Linked DNA regions of Homo sapiens: regions 1 and 2 are each linked to region 3. Evidence: promoter capture Hi-C in 16 types of primary human blood cells and fetal thymus (Javierre and others, 2016). All regions are on one chromosome and are shown on one strand. The core of a region is centred on a gene start or on the middle of the fragment in contact, and the rest is flanking DNA. Distances in the headings are between cores, read along the strand shown. Region 1 overlaps DISP1 (dispatched RND transporter family member 1). Region 2 overlaps DISP1 (dispatched RND transporter family member 1). Region 3 holds the start of DISP1 (dispatched RND transporter family member 1).

Region 1 (3,453 bases), core at 62-2,561, 180 kb after region 3:
ATATTGTTGGGCATCTATTATTATCTCATTTAATTCTCACAGCTATTTGAGATAGATATTGCTGTCTGCATTTTACAAATGAAGAACCAAGGCTCAGAGAAGTTGTTAGTTGCCTAAGGTCACGTAGCTAGTAAATGACAGGACCTGGTTATATCCTAATCTGACTTTAAAGACCATGCATGCTCTTTCTGGTATATCATACAACCTCCCTTATTCAGAAACATATTTTTTTGTTAATCTGATTTTCAAAATATTTTTTCTAGCCTCTAGTGTACCAGAGAGACCATGTACTCGACCAGAATGTGGCCAGCATTCTGTACTTAGTTGGCTGTTTTTAGCGATTTTAAATAGATCACCCACCATCTCTCCTCTCTAGTTAGCTGCCAGGGAGAACATCCCTATAATCCATTCTTGGTATTCCCTAGTGCATCTTTTTGTATTAGGGTGATGTGTTGTGAAATTAAGAGGGATATATTCAATTCGTTTCCTGTTGTAAATTCCTGTGGATTTTTCTTCCTATAGTCTGACCAAAAATAGATTTGCTATATAATTCATACAATTTTAAGATGTAGTGAGTAGACAAAGGCTTTGCGCTAAGACAATATTATGGCATTGCTTTTTTTTTTCTTTTAACATTTTCTCCTGGAATTTATCAAAGGAAAGAATTTCCTGCTGCTAATGAATCATCCATGTGGTTTCCCAGTTTGAATTATTTCCAAATCCTGAGTCTTATGAAATAAATGAATAATTTATAAACCTTTTTCTTTCCTTTTTTTTTTCATATCACCAGGTGACCGATATTCCAGAGTGGTATTTACTTCATCTGGAGGGGAGACATTATGGAATTTACCTGCAATTAAATCAATGTGCAATGTAGATAATTCCAGGGTATGTAAGATAAAAACTAAAATCTCCTTAGCACAAATAAGGTTGTATTATTGAAACTCCTTTTACTGCTGACCCTGGTTTCTGATCAGATGAAAGTACTTCAGAGGCTTACCTACTGAGGAGTAAACTCCAGCAGGCCAGCTTTGCATTCTTTCAGATCCCAGGATCAAAGTGTCCGTGTTTCCTTCAACTTTAAAACATACCATCTTCCTTTTTCTTTCCCATTCATGATCTCTGGCTGTTGATGGTGTTTTCTGTTATTTCACATAGTATTTCTTTTCAGTATAATATTTAAGACTGTTTTTCTTCTTTTGTTGTATTTTTATTTCCTAACCTAGTTTCATTGTTCCCTATTTCCTGCCCTGAGGCAGTTGTCAGCATCTTAATTGTGCAATGAAATGCCTGCCTCTCTGGCAATCACTGGGTCATTTGGGCCAGTGACCTCAAAGGGAAATTTAGGGAGCAGGCTGGGAAAGGGGACATCAAAGAGCATAAATACAGTATCTATGTAAATGACCACAGTAATCCAATCCAAACTGCCCTGAATGCTAAACACCTTGCTGCTTCGGGAGACACCGGGATGCAAGAAGACAGGCGCTTTGTCTCTCAGTCTTCTCTACAGCCAAAAACATGTCCGCATCAGAAAATGTAGTGAGCTTCTGGGTTTGGAAGAGCTGTCAATTTCATATGTTCAGAGATAGTTTCTCTAAATAGAAACTGCTATCTGATGTCACTAATGAACTTGTCCAAGCATAGCAACCAGCATAAAAGGAACTCTTTGTGTTCTCAGCATAACTCTAAAATGTAAAATGACTGGTTAAAAAATCGAATCATGTGCCGTGCTGAGAGCTAGCCTGACCACCTCATGCAATCACCTGTTCGGTCAACAGGGAAATTTCTTAATGAAATAGGCAGTAGAAAGGAAAGAAGAGATCACCCAAACCAGCAGTCTCATTGTACTAACATGAGTACCTTCTAAGAACTAAGTATCTTAACCAGGTAACCTAGTTAGTTGGTCCCAGACCTCCCAGATTTACCCCATCCTTCATTCTAAGAGGCTGTTTGTACATTTTGAAAATGACTTTCCAATCGACTGAGGTATCAGGATTTTCTGTCAGTGCTATCTTCCTTTCACATAGACCAAAGCCACAAACGATCTATAAATAGACCAAAGTTTCTTAATTGGTGATCAATTTTTATTTGTGATGTTTTCTTCTCTTCTACAGCTATCAGTTCCTTATTTGAAGGCTATGAACCTATTTCTCTTTGTCATGCATTAGGATACTTCTTATACAGAAAATTAACTCTAAAGTTGTAAATGTGTAGCGAAATTTACTATGTGCAAGACTTTATGCTGGGTACTTGTACATCACTCACAGTGGATCTGTGACCTTGGAATTTACAATGCATTTTACACGGATGATAAATTAAGCTAAGAGAAGCTAAGCCAGTCTGGTTACTTTATAATCTCACCTTGGATGAGTACAGTTCATTAATTTCTATTCCTTCTTGTCCTCATTCTTCTACCTTTGGTTGATCTTCAGACCTTCCCTTTCCTGAAGACTCTGAAGTGATTGAATTCACTCAGTTAATTAATAGCTGATATTTAGTGAGTATTTACCATGTGCCAGGAAGTGTTCTAAATACTTTAATACATTATTTCATTTAATCCCAATGACAGTGTTGTGAATTAAATACTAAATAGCCCATTTTTCAGTTGAGGAAAGTTCACATCTTTGGTCAGGGGCACTTCCAGGATTGGAACCCAGCCAAGTTGAACTCCAGCGTCTGCCTTTACCCACCCTGCTTTATGCTTCTAGTGAGGAAGATACCTCCCCCGTTTTGTTTCCTGTATATGCCATTTCCCACACAAATGAAGCTTAAAAAGTCACTGTGGTCTGGAATAAGTATCCTTTTTTTTCTTAAAGAGCTAGCAATTTATTCCATGAGTACATGTTAGACTCTGAGACTCAAAAGCCAGTAAGCAATAGTACGCCATGGTGGCTTTCATAAATAAAAGTAGTATAGTCTCTCATCTCTCCTCTCTCTCTGTCTCTCTCTCTCTCTCTATATATATATATATATTTGTAAACTACCTCAACATGATTTATATAGATAGATAGATGATAAAAATCATCATGTTGAGGTAGTTTACAGAAAAGCATATGCAAAGGATGAGATAAATAAGTTGAATGAAATACATGAAGGGAAAACAATGGGAGGAAAATAATAAAGCTAAGGATGAGATTTATACTAATGCACACCCCACAATCTTGTACATTTGCTGATGGGAGCTGCAAACTTATCTGTAACCTCCCAGCAGCCAGAGCAAAAAGGATTCACAATCAGTAACAAAAGTCATATAAATAGGGTAACAAGTTTGTTTTTTAGAAGCCCAGCTTTTCCTCCTGCTAAGACGGGAGGAGACAGTTCCCCCATAGTCTTCATAAAAGAAGTGTGACACTGTGTACAAAATTTTTAACAGCGTGCTTAGAAGAGATACAATATTAAAGTTCAGCTGATTTGCAAAACATAGGTAGGCTGGTAGCAAGAAAACATTACAGT
Region 2 (3,876 bases), core at 440-2,939, 160 kb after region 3:
CAGATAGCATATTCTTTTTTTTGAGACGGAGTTTCGCTCTTATTGCCCAGGCTGGAGTACAATGGCGCGATCTCGGTTCACCGCAACCTCCGCCTCCCAGGTTCAAGCGATTCTCCTGCCTCAGCCTCCTGAGTAGCTGGGATTACATGCATGCACCACCATGCCCGGCTAGTTTTTGTATTTTTTTTTAGCAGAGATGGGGTTTCTCCATGTTGGTCAGGCTGCTCTTGAACTTCCGACCTCAGGTGATCTGCCAGCTCTGGCCTCCCAAAGTGCTGGGATTACAGGCATGAGCCACCACGCCCGGTCAGCATATTCTTTTTTTTTTTTTTTTTTTCAAAGAGGGCTGACAAATATTGTTTTATTTGTTAAGGACTTAGTTGTCTTGTCTTGGAAAGGCTTAATTACAAATATTTTTTGTCTAACTCCCATAACTTTACATGTACTTCTTAGATTACTTGTCACTATATTTTTATGACATCATTGTCATTTTCTTTTTTTTTTAAATTCTTTTTTTTTTTTTTATTATACTTTAAGTCTTAGGTATATGTGCACAACGTGCAGGTTAGTTACATATGTATACATGTGCCATGTTGGTGTGCTGCACCCATTAACTCGTCATTTAACATTAGGTATATCTCCTAATGCTATCCCTCCCCTCTCCCCCGACCCCACAACAGGCCCCGGTGTGTGATATTCCCCTTCCTGTGTCCATGTGTTCTCATTGTTCAATTCCCACCTATGAGTGAGAACATGCAGTGTTTGGTTTTTTGTCCTTGCGATAGTTTGCTGAGAATGATGGTTTCCAGCTTCATCCATGTTCCTACAAAGGACATGAACTCATCACTTTTTATGGCTGCATAGTATTCCATGGTGTATATGTGCCACATTTTCTTAATCCAGTCTATCATTGATGGACATTTGGGTTGGTTCCAAGTCTTTGCTATTGTGAATAGTGCCACAATAAACATACGTGTGCATGTGTCTTTATAGCAGCATGATTTATAATCCTTTGGGTATATACCCAGTAATGGGATGGCTGGGTCAAATGGTATTTCTAGTTCTAGATCCCTTCCACAACGACTTCCACAATGGTTGAACTAGTTTACGGTCCCAGTGTAAAAGTGTTCCTATTTGTCTACATCCTCTCCAGCACGTGTTGTTTCCTGACTTTTTAATGATTGCCATTCTAACTGGTGTGAGATGGTATCTCGTTGTGGTTTTGATTTGCATTTCTCTGATGGCCAGTGATGATGAGCATTTTTTCATGTGTTTTTTGGCTGCATAAATGTCTTCTTTTGAGAAGTGTCTGTTCATATCCTTCGCCCACTTTTTGATGGGGTTGTTTGTTTTTTCTTGTAAATTTGTTTGAGTTCATTGTAGATTCTGGATATTAGCCCGTTGTCAGATGAGTAGATTGCAAAAATTTTCTCCATTCTGTAGGTTGCCTGTTCACTCTGTTGGTAGTTTCTTTTGCTGTACAGAAGCTCTTTAGTTTAATTAGATCCGATTTGTCAATTTTGGCTTTTGTTGCCATTGCTTTTGGTGTTTTAGACATGAAGTCTTTGCCCATGCCTGTGTCCTGAATGGTATTGCCTAGGTTTTCTTCTAGGGTTTTTATGGTTTTAGGTCTAACATTTAAGTCTTTAATCCATCTTGAATTAATTTTTGTATAAGGTGTAAGGAAGGGATCCAATTTCAGCTTTCTACATATGGCTAGCCAGTTTTCCCAGCACCATTTATTAAATAGGGAATCATTTCCCCATTTCTTGTTTTTGTCAGGTTTGTCAAAGATCAGATAGTTGTAGATATGTGGCATTATTTCTGAGGGCTGTGTTCTGTTCCATTGGTCTATCTCTCTGTTTTGGTACCAGTACCATGCTGTTTTGGTTACTGTAGCCTTGTAGTATAGTTTGAAGTCCGGTAGCATGATGCCTCCAGCTTTGTTCTTTTGGCTTAGGATTGACTTGGCGATGCAGGCTCTTTTTTGGTTCCATATGAACTTTAAAGTAGTTTTTTCCAATTCTGTGAAGAAAGTCATTGGTAGCTTGATGGGGATGGCATTGAATCTATAAATTACCTTGGGCTAGAATCAATATATAAGCTGGGCACAGGGGCTCACGCCTGTAATCCCAGCACTTTGGGAGCCTGGGCGAGAGTGTCACTTGAGCCCAGGAGTTTAAGACCAGCATAGGCAGCACAGGGAGACCCCACATCTACAAATAAAAAATCTAAAAAATTAACTGGGTGTCATGGCGCACGCCTGTGGTCCCAACTACTCAGGAGGCTGAGGTGGGAGGATTACTTGAGCCCAGGAAATTGAGACTACAGTGAGCTGGCCCACTGCACTCCAGCCTGGGTGACAGAGCAAGACCTTGTCTCAAAAAAAAAATTTAAATTTAAAAATTTTTAAATAAAATTAATTTATAGTTGTAGTGATGGTTGCATAACTCATGAAAGTACTGAAAACATGGAATTGTACACTTAATTGGGTGAATTATGTGGTATATGAATTATATCTCAATAAAACTCATTGAAAAATCAATGTGTAATTGTATTTGAAAATACAGCTTTTGGGGGTTTTTGGTCTTTTGTAGATTCACCAGAAAAACTAAGTGTGCTTCATGGCTTCTTCAGATGTGAACGTGTTCACTGAAAGCCCAGTCTGTGTAAAGCTGCTAAGCCCTCACCAGCTCACTGGAGTGGCCCTGCACTCCGTCCCTCTATGCATACTTGGATAGCCCTGGCCAGCTGAGCGCTGCAGGTCAGGAGGCTGCTGTCTCCTACAGCCACACACTTCTGCTCCCAGCATTTGACAAGTGTGCTTACCAAACCCACGCATGCCAGTTGGCTTGTTTTGGTAATTATGTTATCTGATTAATGTTTTTAGTTCACTTATATATAGATGCTAAAAGAAAAAGTTGTTTTCACGAAAAGAAAATTGTAGCCTTAGGAAAAAAAGGTTAATTGCTACAAAAAAATTTTACTGCTGAATTAGGCATGGAAGAGAAAATTGTAAAAGATCTGGGGAAAAAAATCATCAAAATTTAGTTGTGTATTGTAGTCAGTATATCCAGGATACTCAAAAGTATCCAAAGTCCTCAAAAACTCAGTCATAGACAATGCAGCAGGTCTATGGTTTATGTAAGAACAGATTAACATTTATGTTTAAGTTACTATTAGATATTTAAGGAATGTATGTAGAACTTCAAAAAATGTTTCTCTTTAATTAACCTTTCTGATTAACCAACAAACTAATGGTTCCTGCAGCATTGAACAGAGAGCCTATACTGTAGGATACAGAGGCACAGAGAGAAACTTACAAAGTTTAGTAAAATGTTGAAAGAGTTTAGGATTGACAAATAGGAATGGGCTGATGTAACAAAGTGTGTGTGTGTGTGTGTGTGTGTGTGTGTATAAGAGAGAAACAAAATAAAAATTACCTATATTAATATTTATGTCCCTAGCTTCTTGCTTTTTTAATTCATTGTCTACTGATTTCAAAGCTGTTGAGTATGAGAAAAGTAATCAAAGATCCCCATTCATTAATCCAACACGCACTGATCTGACATCCACAAAGGACCATACATTATACTAGTTATGGAGATATGAATACAAATAAGATATGGTTCCTTTTTATGTATCTAATGTCTTTTTTTTAGATTTTTAAAAAATGAATTATCTTTACTGTACATATATAAAAAGAATGCATTTTTGGTATCCTTTATAATGCTGTAAATATTCAGGCTCACCTTTTTTCTTAAAGCAACAAGTTCTTGGCTGGGCACAGTGGCTCAGGCCTGTAATCCCAGCACTTTGGGAGGCCCAGGCGGGTGGGAGGTCAGGAGTTCGAGGCCAGCCTGGCCAACATGGTGA
Region 3 (3,698 bases), core at 621-3,120:
CCCTGTCTTTAGCAAACCAGAGTAGCTGGTCACACTAGGACATGGTCGCTTGTGCATATGTGGCCCATAAAAGGACTGCCTCTATGTATTTCAGCCATTCCTACAAAAAAAGGAATTGTGAGAAGCTATAAGGAAACATTTCACAGAGTGTCTATTACATTCTACTTCTTGGCACCCAGCGTGGGCACACACACACACACACACACACACACACACACCCCCCACATCACACCACATACACACTCTCTTCTTTCCATCCTTTCAAAAATACACCTTGCCGCTATGTGAATCAGTTATTTCAAGTATCACCACAAATGGACTACTAACCTTCCCAATGGGAGAAAACCCAAACGCGTGACCTTTTACTTCACTTAGAGTTGATGTTATGCCCTCTAAGTACAGACTTTCTACACGATATCCATTCCTCATTTTCTTCTACTGTAATCCTATCTCCATATATTGCAATGTATGGCCTTTTGCTGGCAAAAGGAGAAAAAAAGAAAAATGTATGTATTATACCATTCCTTTTTAAAAAGGCAAAGAAAGGGCTTGGTGTGCAAGAGAGTATTTATTAAACACTGGTAGCAAAGAAAACAAACAAAAAATGCAACAGTCCTCATTACTGTAGCTGGTGTTGAAGCTTCTTTCTTCTGGGCCCATTCCATAGTTCCCTGTGACTTCAGTTAGCATCTCAGTTGGTTGGGGTGATTTGCTCAATGCAGCAACCTGAGGGGTATGATCCCTTGTGGTCCTGCCTTTATAGGGTTGTGGTAGCCGTCTATTGCCTTTACATCTGGGTATGGCAGTTCAAGAAAGCACCCTCAAGGATAAAACATGCTATTCATGATGTATTATTTTTCTTTGATGACTAGGACAATCCCCCTAGTCAACCCCATGACTCACTGTTTTGTCTATTCCCTTAGATGACCCCACGGATTCCGTTGCACGGAGTCTCTGAAGTCCAAAATTTTTAAGCATAGGGCACAACGTTCTTCATGATTTGGCCTTGTCTCTTCTCATTATGCTTGCTCTTGCATCTGCCATCTGACACTTTGCTTAACTCCTGGCCAGCTACCGGTACAAGCCAAGCTCTCACTCCATAACGTCCTTCTTCTCTGCATGCCCTTCTCCACTGTGCCTGTCCTTTAACTCTTATTCATCATTTATTTCAGTCTCAATTGAAGAGTCATTATTTCTAGAAAGCCTTCTCCGCCCAGCTCTCTACATTGCACCGTTCCCTACAGCACCACCAGAGTGCCTCTAACACTTGATGGTTTCATTGCTTATATATTTTTGTTTCTGTGCATAAGCCTCCCGAGGGAGCCGCCGCTGTTCGATTTATTCTATAGCTAGTTCCTCGCCCTGAGTGTAAGCCTCACGAGAGTGGGGCTGTCCTCTGTTCGCTCTATCCCCAGCCCCTACAGCAGTGCCTGGTTGTTCACAGGCCTATATAGCAGGTGATAATAATCTGAATAATGAAAGAAGAAACACTGTCTTGTGGCGTGATTTACTTCTGTTTTTACTTATGTCAACTTTTAACTAGATTGTGAGGACAGAGGTCAGTGTCTGAGTCATCTTGTGCCTCACTGGGCTTGGGCAGAATAGACGCTTGGTCAAGCATTTGCACACTGGTCGATGGATACACTAGAAAGAGCAGGAGCGCGAGAGGGAATTTTTTTGGCGCCTGCCTCGCCCTTTCAAGCCAAGCCCCTCTGCCCTCTGCCCCTTGCCAGCCGCCCGTCGCCCGCCGCCGGCGATCCCTCTCCCGGGGAGCGGTAGTCAAGCGAGGCCAGCGGGCCGGGAGCGGGCCGGGAGCGGGCGAGGGGCGGGACTTCCGGTCCCGCTCGCGACGCGGACCGCGCCAGGCGGAAGCCCGGCTCCGGGCCAGCATCCGAGAGCCCGGACTGGAGGTGAGTTCGCAGCCGGAACGTTGCAGGCACTTGTTTCCTCAGTGGATGCCTTTCGGCGCGCCGCCGCCCGGCGCCGCGGGACTGGGAGACCGGGTAGGGACGGGAGAGTCGGCATCTCCCGCGCGTGTGGAGGGAAATCCGGGACCCCAGGCTTGAGAGAAGGGCCAGGACTGAGAACGGGGAACCAGGAGAGCCCTAAGGGCAGCCTTTAGGGACTGAGGAGGGAGGCACCGGGGACCCTGAGGCCAAAGAGGCCCTGAGACTGGAGGTTGCGGATGACACGGGGCAGAGTTGCATCTCGGAGGAAAGTAGTCATTCGTGGGGGCGTGTCCCGGGTCCTGGCGGATTGACTGAGAGGATGGCAGGAGATGGCAAAGGTTGGCTTCCAGGGAGAGGTTACAGAGGAGGGAGTCAGTCCTTCTCTGAGGGTCGTAGGTGAGAAGGACGTCTTGACCTAACGAACCAGAAAGATGACCAGCCACCTATTGGATGCTGAACTCCTATTGCTTCATTTGCAATTCATGCAGTTTGTTTTTTGTTTTTAGAAATATATCCCGCTCCGCGCGTGTGGATTTCGGGAAAATATTGTATATTCCTAGGGACCGCTCGAATTCTTGCTTCACCCAGATTCTGCGTGTCTTTGTCAAACTGATAGTAGTTGAGAGTTCTCTTCACCCAAGGAAGACAACCAAAGTTTTCCTTTTGGACTCTTCTCTACCCTGCAGAGTTTAGCTTGTCTTATTTCCCTTGTCATGGGATGAACTAAATGCGTTCAGAATTATGGTGATAATCACATGGAAAGCCAGTGCTGTCAATGTTTGCAGTTTCAACTCATTGTTTTTCTGTCCAACTTTCTAACACATTTTTTCTAAAAGCTATTTTGTTGGGTTTAGTCTTTTAGTTTAACCAATAAAGGCAATTTTACATCAGGGTGCAGCAAATTACTAGCAGTTCTTAAGATTTTACTGTTCCTTTTTATTTCTGCTGTAAGGAAATATATATATATATATATATATATATATATAAATATTTGCCATTGTCAGTGTTTTTTAAAAATATTGATAACCCAAGATCTGTTGTTACACGCACATTAGCACATTTAGTTTTCCCCAGTGGCCAGTGTTTGGTATGTGGGCTCATTATTATTACCAAAGGTAATTATTGATTTAGTTATTATTTACCTTGCATTTATGTTTTATTGGATGTGATTAATATGTGCTTCCTAATCTACATAATATAGTGTTTCACTCAGTGTAATTACAAAGATTCTCCTAGCTTTTAAGTAGGTAGTAAGTGAATTGGATTTTTGCCACAAAGTGAGCAAGGTAGCTAGGAAGAATCATAACACTGTCACTGATGGAGGGTGAGATCTGATGATTGCTTTGCTTGTTTCAGGTGTTTCACATTTCAAATGTTAGAAGTTTTTGTTTTAAAAATTACTGTATTAGTACAGGTAACTTTTAGATCTGATTTGGTGGTCTGACTTGAACTAATTCAGGAAAACTAGAACATTTTATATTTATTGGTACTGCGATATCTTGCTAGCTTATAAATTCTTGATGGCCTTGAATATCTGTGCTTGAGTGAAATACACAGTTATAACGTCCTTATGTTTAGGAGGACTGCTGATATTTACAAGTGTAAAGCAAGGCCTAAACATAAACAGTGCCTTAACATGTAAATGAGCATATTGAATAAGTTTTCAAATTACAAAATGAAGAGATAACACTGATCTCTAAAGTAATTGAATTAACTGCCATGTTAATTTCTGTATATGTCTCAATTTAA

What was found. Contacts are between HindIII fragments. The CHiCAGO score rates a contact against its expected background, and 5 or more counts as called.
Region 1: a fragment that was not itself captured here is called in contact with the fragment with the promoter of DISP1 in region 3 in 6 of 17 cell types (megakaryocytes, endothelial precursors, M1 macrophages and 3 more); the score reaches 12.2 in megakaryocytes.
Region 2: a fragment that was not itself captured here is called in contact with the fragment with the promoter of DISP1 in region 3 in 1 of 17 cell types (megakaryocytes); the score reaches 7.1 in megakaryocytes.

Annotation. Positions count from the first base shown.
Region 1 is chr1:222,994,095-222,997,547 of GRCh38, forward strand. It overlaps DISP1 (dispatched RND transporter family member 1), which reads left to right. Exons shown (of 9, transcript NM_001377229.1): 8 at 791-888. Among named protein-coding and RNA genes, the nearest start is that of TLR5, 150 kb to the right of the region's middle. The HindIII fragment of the contact is 2,907 bases long and covers 1-2,765 here.
Region 2 is chr1:222,977,025-222,980,900 of GRCh38, forward strand. The region is part of intron 3 of DISP1 (dispatched RND transporter family member 1); the gene reads left to right. Among named protein-coding and RNA genes, the nearest start is that of DISP1, 160 kb to the left of the region's middle. The HindIII fragment of the contact is 5,518 bases long and covers 1-3,876 here.
Region 3 is chr1:222,813,169-222,816,866 of GRCh38, forward strand. DISP1 (dispatched RND transporter family member 1) reads left to right here and starts at 1,871. Exons shown (of 9, transcript NM_001377229.1): 1 at 1,871-1,910. RefSeq lists an enhancer at 1,262-1,321 and silencers at 1,562-1,641, 1,732-1,831. The HindIII fragment of the contact is 6,781 bases long and covers 639-3,698 here.